Regions from separate parts of the Homo sapiens genome. Here region 1 is linked to region 2. Evidence: promoter capture Hi-C in human tissues and cell types (Jung and others, 2019). All regions are on one chromosome and are shown on one strand. Each heading gives the region's core, a stretch centred on a gene start or on the middle of the fragment in contact. The rest is flanking DNA. Distances are from core to core; before and after follow the strand shown. Region 1 overlaps LOC105371259 (a long non-coding RNA gene). Region 2 holds the start of BRD7 (bromodomain containing 7).

Region 1 (6,468 bases), core at 1,670-4,169, 1.6 Mb after region 2:
AGCAGAGAGTAGAATAGTGGTCACAGGAGCATGGGGAAAGGAGGCGGGGAGACAGTAGATGTTGGTTAACTGATAAAAAATGACAGCAAGGCAGGAGGAATAAGTTATAATGTTCTATAGCATTGTAGGATGACTATAGTTAACAATTTACTTTATGTTTTCCAGTAGCCAGAAGGAAGGATTTTGAAGGTACTGAACAGAAAAAAATAATAAATGTTTCAGGTGAGAAATACACTAATTACCCTGATTTGAATACTACACATTGTTTACATGTGTTGAAATACTATTCTGTATCCCATAAATATGTACAATTACTACATGTCAACTAAAAATTAAAAAAATAAGGCTGATAGGATCACTATTTAGTCAGACCCCTGGTGGCTCAAGCCTTCCTTGAGGTTTATTTTTTGCCTCTGGAGAGTAGAGACCTCAGTCACTGTTGCACCCTCATGCCCATGCCCACCCAGTCCTCTGGCATGGTGGCATGGCCACAGTAGGCACCCATCCGAGAGGCCAACCTGAAGGAATGGATCATACCACACTCACGCAAGCAAGAGTCTGAGTAAGGCACCTCTAACTCAGGATAGAACTCCTGACTCCAATCAGGAATAGCCTCCAGAAAAGAAAAGTGCTTTTATGGGGACCTCCGCCCATTTGTTAGTCATTTATCCACATGAATCCTTAGGCCAGGAGTCCAAAATGCACATACTTTTGGAGGCTTAGACAGGTGACATAAATAAGAGAAGTGGGATGGCTGAGGGATGATTCTTCACTTTCCCAAAGAAATATCTTCTTTGCCATTTTCTTTGACTTGTTCTTCGCTCTTGTTGGTTCATTATTCTGTATGTTATAGGGACAAGGGAAAAAGAAAAATTTATATTCCTCTTTACTATTGGGCCATGAAAGAATTACAAATGACAACTAATTCTATGCCTCGATGGCAGAAAACCACCAGGGTGAAGAGAAGACCCTGGTGAACTGAACAGCATAGGTCTCATCTAAATAAGGAGGAGCTAGAGCTAATCATCCCCTCATGGGAATATGGACTCAGTGTTGCCTGCTGTTTTTTTCAAAAGAAGCTGGAACCTAACTATTCTTGTGAAATAGCCTAATATATTTACATGCACAATTCATACATACTCTTTTAAAACCCTGTGCAGGAAACAGGGGATACATTTTTGGTCCAGATTCAGGGTATGAATCAGCAATTTAGATCCTGAATTTTCATCATATTGTTCAGCTCTTGGGGTATCAACCAGATGTAGTAGCAGAAGTCTTGGCCTGTGAATCCAGAGGCTGGGGTGGGCATTCTCCTCTGTAAAAATGTGGACAACTTGTACTCCTCCCTGATCATCTCCTTAACTTCTCCAAACAAGGAGAGATTAGATGACCAAATTTATTTTTATATGCACATCTAGAGTGTAAACAGCTATCATAAATAGACTTTAAAATGCATGTGGCTTAAAAAATAAACAAATGAACAGAAGTTTCACTCTCCGTCACAGAACAGTCCAGGGTGTGACAGCTGGAGCTTTCCTCCACCCTGTGATTCCAAGATCTACTCTCCTGTGATTATGTTGGCTCCCATGGCCTTGCCATCGTCTACCTCTTGCTGCTCTCACAGAAGAGGTATGGTAGAGGAAATGAACACCTGCTTCTTGAAAATCATGGCCCAAGATCTATACAAATCATTTTTACTTACATTCAGTTGGTGAGAACTGGACACACAGCCACACCCAGGTGCAGGGTGTGACATGACTACACTGTGGAAGGGAAGAACAGATTTTAGTGGATGTCTAGCATTCTTTGCCACCTATCCTTCCAGAAAACGTTGCACATGAATCCAATATATAAAACGGTTCATCATGTAGCTGTACAAGATGAAGACAGAATAAGGAATTCCTAAACTCCATAATGAAAGTTGCATCACTGCTCAAAATATTTTTTGGTCATGGAGAAAGAAGATGTCTCTTTGTTGCACTGACATCAGGCTTGGCCATGTGACTCACTCTTGCCCAGTGAATGTAGCTAGAAGTGATGGGTGCTATTGTTAAACAGAAGCTTTGAAAGCCATGGTCCACCACTCTTCTATTTTCCTTCTGAAGGGGGACCAGTATGTCACAGAAAAGAGCTTCTTTTTCAGTAGAATTAGAATGAAGAAGATAGGAAACAAAATCAGAGCTGCTTTATGATAGTCATGTCATATGAATGAAAAATGCATCTTTAATTTTGCAGGTCATTAAGATTTGGTGCCATTTGTTACTGCAGTATAACTTGGCTTAAGCTGACTGATACACTCTCATGTCCGGTGTCCTCTTGTCTCATTAGGGGCCTGGGAAGCATCTCCTTATAACTTCTAGGACTTGGCAAAGTATTGGACCCAATCATTGCTGAGATCTCTCAAAGTCCCAGCATTCCTTGATTCTGTCTTCATGTGGTAGGGTCTCTATATTCCTAGAGGCTTTGAAGGACCTTTGTATTCCTAGAGCCTAACACTATGCAAGGTATAAAGTAGGTGCTCAGTAAGATTGCTGAACATGCAACATATTGTTTTGGCAATCTCCTGCAGCATGAAATTTTCTAATCAATGTCCCTCCCCACAGGCCATTCCTAGAGCGCCCTTCTCTCCCTCCCTCCACATGGTAGACTTCATATTTCAAGCCAAACTCAGGTGTTCTCTTCCCTATGACAGCCTCAGACCAGAGTCCGAAGAAGTGTGTCCCATCTCTGGATTCCAATAACTCTGAAATTTCTCTAGGCTCTTCCATGCTATATTCTTTTGGAAGCAATGCTTGGTTTAGTGATTTTTCATTCTCTCAGTTTCTAGGATATTGTCTGATTCAATAATAAGTCTCAAAATGTGCTTATTAAATAAATGAATCAATATAGTATTTCCAAATTTGTCATGATATAAAAACTTGAAAGAATTTGCTGTCAAATATGTATATTAAAATATAACCTTTATGTGATTTGAAGACTTTAATATGGGAAAAGTAATACCTTTTGTGTGAGATAAATTGTCCTTCTCAAGAACCTGCCACTGTATTATATTGTAAGGTACGTGTTATATATAAATTATAGCATTTGCCATGCATCTCCTCAGGCTAAATACTGCCCTTCCAGTCATATTTAAACAAATGTTTTTAAAGAAACTTTTCTCTGGGAGCAAAAGTACACCAAATCATTTACACTCTAGTATAAATTAGTTAATCAGTTCACAAGTTTTCTTCTCTCTCTCTCTGTCTCTCTCTCTATATATATACACACACACATATGTGTTTGCTATCATTTTAAATCTATTTGAATCTTTAGTTCTTAAAATTTCTGCCTTTTTACAAACGATGCATTCCTGAGAATGTCTTCCCAAGATTGTGCTTAAGTTTGGACTTTGGAAGCCATGTGGATTGCTGTGCTGTGGGGTTTGAATCTGTCTCCACCATCTACTGGTTGGTAAAGCTGGCCAAGACAGTCAAATTTCCTAGCTCTCATTTTCTCAAAATGAGATAATTGGTGGCTAATAAATGGTACATCAATCCACATGTATTAATCACTATGAAGGAAGAAAATGCATTTAGAATTTAGATTGATATAAATCATGGCATAAAATACAAGTTTTGGAGGCTTCTCCTTATATTGAACCCACCTGGATGAACTAAACAAAGACACCCTTACTCAAGAGGCTGAGGAATAAGGATCACTAAAGTCCAGGAGTTTTATACCAGCCTGGACAACATGGCAAAATCTCATCTCTACAACAACAACAACAACAACAACAACAACAACAATAATAATAATAAACAGGCATTGTGGTGTACTTGTGATCCCAGCTACTTGGGAAACTGAAGCAGGAGGATCTCTTGAGCTCAGGAGCTCAAGGTTGCAGTGACTTATGATGGTGCTAGTTCACTCCAGCCTGGGCAACAGAGCAAGACTTCCTCCCCACCTACCCCCAGAAGAAAAGGAAAAGAAGATGTTCTGAATGAGAGAGGAAGGTCTGAAACAAAGGTAATGAAAGCCTCTAGAACTTTCATTTACAAATCCAAGCCACCTTTTCTTCTGTAACTAAAACAACAGAAATATTTTCTTCTTTTTATTCAACTCCACCATCTTTAAATTGGAGACTCAATGAAACTGAAACTCCTGCCCTTCCAGAACTTAACCTGTTAAATGACTGTGCTTTCTTGCTACAACAAAAAACAATGTGGTACAAAGAAAACCAACCCTGGTTGGAGCACATATTTTTTTCTAAGGAGATTGATGAATTGCTTCACTGCATCCAGCAGAAACTGGAAATGATAACTCTTTCCCCCAGTCATAATGACTAACTGTTAAACTTGAAAGGATAAAACAAAGGAAGAATCTTGTTGCCTCCCCTAAGTTACAAGCACTACAAGTGGGACTGACACCTTTCATCTTCTCACTCACAACAGCTGGCTTCTGAGGAATAGCCTCCGGGGATGACAGGGTGGCTGGGGTGTGCTGGGGGTATCGTGCGGAGAAACAGCTGTTTCTCAGATTTGCTAGAAGGAAATTTTAATCAGGGTCAGGCTGAAATTGGTTTGTGCAGACTTGGGCCTAGTCATTCCTTTATGGGAGGCAAATGGCAAGGTGCTTTCTGGGTTACAAAAACTCCAAACTCCAAAGTCATGCTGGGACCTGCTTCATTCCTCCCCTAAGGCATCCGTGGACTGGCTTAGGTCCTTCTGCTAACTTAGGTTACCTGGCAGCTTTATCGTGTATATAGCAAAAGAACCTCTAGGCACACATGTTTTGCTGGCCCTTCTATTGAAAGGTGATGCTACTAGCCTCGAACAAAGAGATAGGCAGTGAGCACAGTTTAGACTCTGAATCTCCCAGTTCCCAAATGCGACGGTTAGTTTTATGTGCCAACGTAGCTAGGCTATAGGACCTAAGTATTTAACCAAACAATAATCTGGGTGTTCCCGTGAAGGTGTTGTGTAGATGTGGTTAACATCTCCAACTAGCTGACTCTAAATAATGGAGATGACCTTCCATAATGTGGGTCAGCATCACCCAATCGGTTGGTGGCCTAAAGAGCAAAAACTGAGGTTTTCCAAAAACGAAGTTGTGCCTCAAGACTCTGGCTTTAATTCTTGCTTGAGTTTCCAGCCTGCCAGCTCGCTCAGTAGATTTCTTTTTTATAATAGCTTTTAGGGTACAAGTGGTTTTATGTAACGTGGATAAATTATATACTGGTGAATTCTGAGATTTGAGTGCAACTATCACCTGAGTAGTGCACATTGCACCCAATGTGTAGTTTAGTGTCCCTAGTCTCCCTCCTACCCTCCATCTCCTGAGTTTCTAAAGTCCATTTATGACTCTGTATGCCTTTGCATACTCATAGTAATAGCTTAGCTCCCACTTATAATTGAGAACATTCAGTTTTTGGTTTTCCACTCCTGTGTTACTTCACTTAGAATAATGGCCTCTGGCTTCATCCAAGTTGCTGCAAAAGACATTATTTCATTCCTTTTGATGGCTGAGTAGTATTCCATGGTGTATATGTGCCACATTTTCTTTATCCACCCTTTAGTTGATGGGCACATAGGTTAGTTCCACATCTTTGCAATTATGTATTGTGCTCAGCACATTTTGGAATTGCCAGACCCCCAGAATCACAAGAGCCAATTTGTTAAAATAATTCTTTTAACATTGACATATATACATAAAACAAACATAGAGTTCTGCAAAACTAAAACATTCTAAGATGATAGTATACTATTTCTAGAACATTGCAAGTTTTTGCCTGATCCTGAGGTCATGAGGAATGGCTAAAGTCAGAGTGGTTAAAGAATTCCTTGATTTTTTTGCATAATTTTAGGGTCTTTTCCTGACTCCTTTTCTGAAAAACACAGAGAAGCCAAGATGGTCTGCCATTTATTGCTCCAAGGAAGAGAATGCATGACAGAGATAAAAACCTGAATCAATACTTAGCTTTTAAGTTTCAAAAGTCCTACCCTATGTGATCAGAGTGGGTTTGTGCATGGAATGGAAAGATTTTAGACTACAAATGGGGAAGAATTAAACACCTCTTTCTGTTAGCCATGCCTGCAGATTAGCTAATGATGCTTTGGCCCGAGTGGGGAGTTGGAGATGAAGAAAGTTTTGAGAAGGCAATATGGACTCTGACGAAGATCAGCCCTGTGCTCTAAACTCATCCCCTCCCACCCCTTCTCAGATCCTTTCTAGCTGTAGGGAATTCAAGGACAGAAGGCACAAGAGCCTAGCTTCCAGGTTAGAAGCAGGAAGGCAGTCAACCTTAGAATGAATAGCCATTCATTCATTCATTCATTCATTCAACAAATGTCTACTGAGTCTCTGCTGTGTGCCAACTATTGTCCTAGGTGCTGGAGTAGACAAGAAGGACCAAGTCTTCACCCTATGAGAGCTCACATTCCAATGCAGGCTCACCCTGTAAGAGTTCATATTAAAAGTTCTCACCCTATG
Region 2 (6,223 bases), core at 1,549-4,048:
AGAACTTATAAAATCTACCCCGTGTATGCTTTCTTAGGACGTTCCTAGAGTTAAGAGTCCACCAGAACAAGGGAATGAATCAAGAAAGAGGAAGGCATGAGATCCAGGAAGCAGGTGAAGGAGAGTCCCAGGAGGCCTTGACAGCAACTAATTCAGCCTCCAGGAGACAGAAAGCTGTAAGATAAATGTCTCCAGAGGAAAATAAAAAAGGAAGTAAAGAACTCAAATGAGTTTCATAAATCTTAGAGTTTGGGAAGAATTATTAAGCAATAACCAAACAAATGAAAGCAATGATCTAACTAGTTAAGATCAGATCTATATTTGCATACTATACTTGTCTACAATCACTTTAATATTGATTTAACCAATAATTGTGATGTACCTATACCTTGAGCAAGGGAAACTGAATTCTCATCTTCCATAACATGATGTCAGTAGAAGATATAAACTGCTAAATCAGTAAATAGCAATATAAACCTTTATTTTGAAATAGAAATAAGTAGGCAAGGAAAAATACCTAAAAAGTGTCCAGAGTGGAGCAGCAGCCTGCTTTGTGTCAAAAAGCTGTGTAGTACTCTTGACTTTTAAAAATCATCTTCACGAATTACTTTACTACTATTAATTAAAAAAAACAACTGGTTACCTCTGAAGAGGGAGTCTATGTGAAGGATTGGGGTGAGGAAAACTTTTTCCATTTTGTGTACTTTTGCACCACATGAACTACTTTTAAAAAATCAAATGCATATATGGGTTTTATAATTTAAGGAAGAAAACAAAACATTACTCCTACCTAGCCAAAGGTAATAAAAACTGGGACAAAAGGGAAGGAATAGACTTAAGAAATCCCCAAAATAAGATCTCTAAGACTTGGTGACTTAGCAATGTGTTCAATCACATGGAAGAGAAAGCTCCTCTTGTATATATAAACATAAGAAAAATTACATAACTAACCTATGAAAATTTACCTTCACAATAATTGATGTAATAAGTCGTTCAGTGGCAGGTTAAATTTGGAAAGTTAATAACAGTAATAACAATGTTATTATTATTAGAGACAGAGTCTCGTATTATTGCCCAGGCTGGAGTGCAGTGGTATGATCATACCTCACTGTACCTCAAACTCCTGGGCTCAAGGGATCCTCCCACCTCAGCCTCCTGAATAGCTGGGACACAGGTGCACACCACCAGGCTCTGGAAATTTTTGTAGTTTATTTTGCAGAGGCAGGGCCTTGCTATGTTGCCCAGGCTGGTCTCGAACTTCCAGCCTCAAGCAATCCTCCCACCTCGGCATTCCAAAGTGTTGGGATTACAAGTGTGGGCTACTGGGCCCAGCCATTAATTATTATTTTGCCCAGCTTTCAAACCAAGATGGTAGCTACTCATTCTTTTCTGTTAAATGCAAATGGTTAAGAATATCAATCTCCATTACAGGTTTCTGACCAAATTTTCTCAACACACTACAACACTGTTTTAAAAGATTTAAAGTTGCTCATTACAGATTTGGCATTATAATATTTATTTCAGAACAAACTTTAAACCCCAGTAGATCCCACTCGCTTCTGAAATGACTATTTTTGACAATCCTTGAACACTGAGGCTTTCTTGAGCATGACTTTTTACCCTGCCTAGATGGAAAAACCATTCTTTGAAGCAGCTCCTCAAAATTTGGACTTAGCTGCTTCCTCACCTGATGTGCGAGTACAATTGCCTAAGAGTATAATCCAAAAACGACTTGCTGAAACTCATAGATGATTCATGTCTCTATTCTGTCCTGCTCCTCCTCAAACGAGCCAGATCTTAGAGGCGTTTGTTTTCCCCAGATACAAAGAAAATAAAATGAGGTTGGCACCTGGAAGAGGCAGTGCCGTCCGCAAAGCCAAAGCAATGTAACCACTTGTACCTTAACTCTTCTCCGTTTTCTCCCCTTTTCTTCCCCTGGAATCTGCTTCTCTCCTTTCTTTCTCTTTTTCCGCTTTCTGTCCTTGTGTTTGTCATGATCGTTTTTGTCTTCGAAGAGGCTGGAGTCGTGCCCCGAGCTGCCCGTGGAGAGTTCGGTGACTTCGTTCCCTCCTACTTTGAGGACCAGCTTCAAGGGCTTCTCTACATACTCTTAAAAAAAGAAAAGAAAAGAAAGGAAAGCGCGTCGATTAAAATCGGGGCTCTCCAGGGAGTGCTAAGGATGCAGAGCGCCAAGGCGCAGCAAGCCCGAGGCGGCTTTGGGCGCTCCGCGAAGCACCTGTTGAATGACGGACCCCGGCCCGGGGGTGCGGCGGCGCCGCCCGCCCCGAACGCTCCCAGGCCTCCCGGGCCCGCCTCACGTCTCCCCACCAGAGACCCACCGGACCAGGGGGACCCGGGTTCGAATGCCGCGGCCGCACGGGGGGCAGCGCGGCCTCCGGCAGGACGCGCCCCCTTCGCCGGCCTGGGCCTGCCGTGGGAAGGAAGGGCCCCGGGCCGCCCCGGAGCCACTGGGAAAGAGCGGAAGCCCGGCAGAGCCGCCGAGGGCCCGCCGCCCGCACCCCGGCCCCCTCCTCACCCTCGTAGAGGTGTTTGTCCGACTTGTGCTTCTTGTGCTTCTTGCCCATGTCCGACCGGGCCCCGGTGCCCGCCCCCCGCGCCAGGCCCAGGCCGTGCGGCGCCGCTTCCGGTCCGGGCCAGGCGAGCGGAGGGCGGGAGCGGGGCCCGCGAGACCCCGCGCCGCGAGGCAGGGGGGCGGCGCGCGCCGGGCGGCGCGATGCCCCTCTCGAGAAGACGGCGCGCGAGACCCGGCCGGAGCCCGAGAGCGGCGGCGGGGGGGGCGCGCGGCCGGCGCAGAGGCGGGAAAGAAGGCCCGCCGCGCGCACAGGGTGCCGGCGGCTGCGGGTGGCGGCCCCTGGCGACCGGAGGTGGTGCTGCAGCTCGCGGGCCGGGGGCGGGGCCGAGGGCGGGGCCGGGGCGGGATCCACCGCTCAGACTCTCGTCTTTCTTCCTTCCTCCCTTTCCCCTCAATTTGTCTGTCTTGTCTCTGTCTCTGTGTGTCTCTCCCTCCGTCTCCACTTCCCTCCCTTCTTTTTACTCCCTCCCTCTCTTTCTTTCTCTTTCCCTTCTTCCCTTCCTTCCTCCTTCCTTCCTTTCTTTCTTCCCTCCTTACTGCCTCCCTTCAAGCCTTCCTTCTCTCTTTTCTTCCTCCCTCATCACCCTTCCTTCTCCTCTTCCCGTCTCCTTCCCTCTTTTTTTCTTTTCTTTTTTTCCCCTTCCTCCTTCCCCCACTCTTCCTTTCTTTCCACTTTCCCTTGCTTCTGTTTCTTCCCTTTTACGATATTGACTGAACCCCATACTGGGTGCCAGACCCAGCAAACTCAGCACATTGGTGACTGAAGATTCTAATCTTAAAAAAAACTTATGTGCTGATAGGTGAAGGTTACCAGACGTTTTGACTGTCTTTACTTCTAGCTGTATGGTGCTTTGTCTGTTTTCAGATAAGCTCGTAATTATAGTCTCCTCTTAAGAAAGGATCTGTTATCAGTCATTTATACTTTAGTAACAATTTAGACCCATGAATCACCTCTCCCAGGAAGATTTGTAGCTTTACCTTGAACTTCAGTGGTGAAATTATAGGCTTATATTTTAGGACCCTATTGTTGGCAACTAATAGAAACCAATTTGAATTATTTCAAGTAAATAAAAAGGGATTTATTGGTTTACATGTCTAGAAAGGGCAAGAATAAAGCTTGCCAGAGGGAAGACAGGAACCAAGGATGTAATGCTGTTGACTGGCATGCCAGCTCGCTCTCTCTCTTGTCTCTCTGTATATCGGTCTCCATCTCCCCCCTTCTTTCCTATATGGCTGGAAACATGGCCACCATCTGCTTCTGAGGCCTCTTCTTTATAGTGTCCTGACCAACTGGGAAAAAGATCTCTTCCTGTCAGCTTCACCTGGAAAACAGTCCCAGGGAAGGACTCTGATTGGCTTGGCTTGTGTCACATGTTTTATGGGACAGGGGATGGGAGATTGATTCGGCCTGGATGCCAAATCTACCCCCTCACCCCCTTGGCCAAGAGAAGTGGAGTCTGTGATTGGCAGCTCCTGCCAGACTTCTATGGTTAGCCAGGGAAGATGAGGTTCTTCTAATGAAGAGAGTTGCTTTTTCATGAAAGCTAAAAGTGTGTGTCTATTATTTCCCTGTAACAAGCCTCTCTGGTGTCCGTGAGGCAGAGATCAGGGTGTGGGAAGAGGGGTTGTGTTGGGGAAGAGACCTTCTGCTGCTCTGAAATCAAGCCAGCTAGGCCCCCTAGGCCCCCTAAGCATAGGGCAAAGCTTGGTTTCAGCTTTTCATCCACTGTCTGTAACTTATTTTGCTTTAAGAACCACTATGCCAACTCCCACTGTGGGTCTGGCCTCTATTGTGGCATTGCCTTGCTCCAGGCTCAACCTGTGGGTTTACCTGTCTGCTCCTCATTACCCTGGGTACCTCCTTGGTACTTACAGTGCCTAGCACAGTGACTACTACTGTCCAAATGCCCCTCAGAGGAAAAAGGTCTGGTGAACTCATCCATACTATCAAGTTAGTAATTTCCCTACCCTCTCAAGAGTGATTCTACATAGGTCACAAAGTGGTCACATCAATGGAAAGTGAATAAGAGTACGTAGCAGAAAACACCTCCCAGAAAAATGTTCCTGGAAGTGGAAGCCCAAATTCATCTAGTTTTAAATTCTCAGCACTAATACCATGCCTGGCACATAGAAGGCACCAGAAAATGCTAGTTGAGCTGCACGGTCCTGGTTCGGGCAGACTCCCCTGAGAGATTTCTGCCTGCTGCCATTCATGACCTCCCAGTGAGTGTAGAATGGCCTGGAGACTGGCTTCAGAGCAATAGAATATGGCAAAGATGATGGACGTCACTCCTGTGTTGAGGATACATAAGACTTCAGTCTTACTTGCTGACCGTCTCTCTTGCCTTCTTGGCTTGCATGTTTTGATGAAGTAAGCTGCCATGCTGGAGAAGCCCATGTGACAAAGACCTGAGGCTGGGCCCCAGTTGACATCCGGCTACAACTGAGGCTATCAGTCCAACAGCCTTGAAGGATTGAATCCTGCCAGCAACTGTGTGAGCTTCAAAGTGGATCCTTCCTCAGTGGAACATTCAGATGAGACCTCAGCCCTGGCTGACATCCTGATCACAGCCCTGTGAGAGTCCCAGAAGCAGAGGCCCCAGTTAAGCTGTGCCCAGACTTCTCCCCCAACAGCCCAACAGCTCTTGAGTGAGTGAGACAGAGCTGACTTGAGTCCTGGGGTCACAGATGCTTACAGGGTCTGTGACTTTGGCATGTCCTGAGAGGGCTGCCTACCTCTGAACCTTGGAACCAGGGTGAGGTCATTGGGTGTGCTGCTGCAACAGGGTGGTTGTAAGGATCAAAGAAGATAATGTGGTCAGAGTGCCGAGAGTAATGCCTGATATGGTAGATAGTAAATGGTCAATAAATATCAGCTGCTAATACTAACTTTTAAATATTTGTGAATGTCACTTTCCTGCTCAAAACCATCTTGTGGCTCCCTGTCTCACTCGAAGTCAAAGCCAAATCTGCACCTTGGCTTTCAGGGCCGGATCTGGCCCTCATTCTCTTTCCAGCCCCATCCCCCTGCCCCCTCCTCCCTCCTGCCCCAAGCCCCTGCTTCTCTTCCCTGTGTTCAGAACACTCTCCCCTGAGCTCCTGGAGTGGCTCCTGCCCTCACATCACCTTGGTCTCCCCTGTGACCACCTCAGAGAAGCTTCTGGACCACCAACCCACACACCCCTTCCCCTCTTCCCTCAGCCTGTGCAATGCCTTGTTTCTCTCCATTGCACCTACAGCCTCCAAAATTATGTTGAATATCTCTTCCCTATCTGTGTGCGTGTCCACCATCTGTCCACTGGCTTCCCAGGTCCCCAAGGTTAGGGACTAGGTCTGTCTCACTCCTGGCTGTGTGCCCCGCACTTAGCACAGAGCTGGGCTCAGCACAGGCCCTGGAGAAATATTTGTTGGACAAATGAATACATCATAATTACTGTGTTGTGATAATAATTCTCTTCCTCCTTCCTCCCCTTTCTGGTGGAGACACGAGGTGACTGGAGCCCTCCGGGAGAGTCTGTGGAGGAGAAAGCCTGGCCACTGGGGGGTGTGGCATGCCCAGGAAATCTCTGCGCAGCTCAGCTTGGAGGTGGCCCCTCTTCAGCCTGGCCTCTCTGCTGAGGAGTTGTTGCC

What was found. Contacts are between HindIII fragments. The study calls those that stand out against the background at their distance.
Region 1: a contact is called between a fragment that was not itself captured here and the fragment with the promoter of BRD7 in region 2, in 1 of the 25 tissues and cell types used here (dorsolateral prefrontal cortex).

The regions. Positions count from the first base shown.
Region 1 is chr16:51,985,412-51,991,879 of GRCh38, forward strand. LOC105371259 (a long non-coding RNA gene) reads right to left here. Exons shown (of 3, transcript XR_933563.3): 2 at 1,703-1,763; 3 at 1-840. Among named protein-coding and RNA genes, the nearest start is that of LINC02911, 89 kb to the right of the region's middle. The HindIII fragment of the contact is 5,234 bases long and covers 303-5,536 here.
Region 2 is chr16:50,366,190-50,372,412 of GRCh38, forward strand. BRD7 (bromodomain containing 7) reads right to left here and starts at 2,799. Exons shown (of 17, transcript NM_013263.5): 1 at 2,537-2,799; 2 at 1,901-2,109. The coding sequence starts at 2,585. RefSeq lists silencers at 2,188-2,697, 2,728-2,977. The HindIII fragment of the contact is 10,865 bases long and covers 1-4,003 here.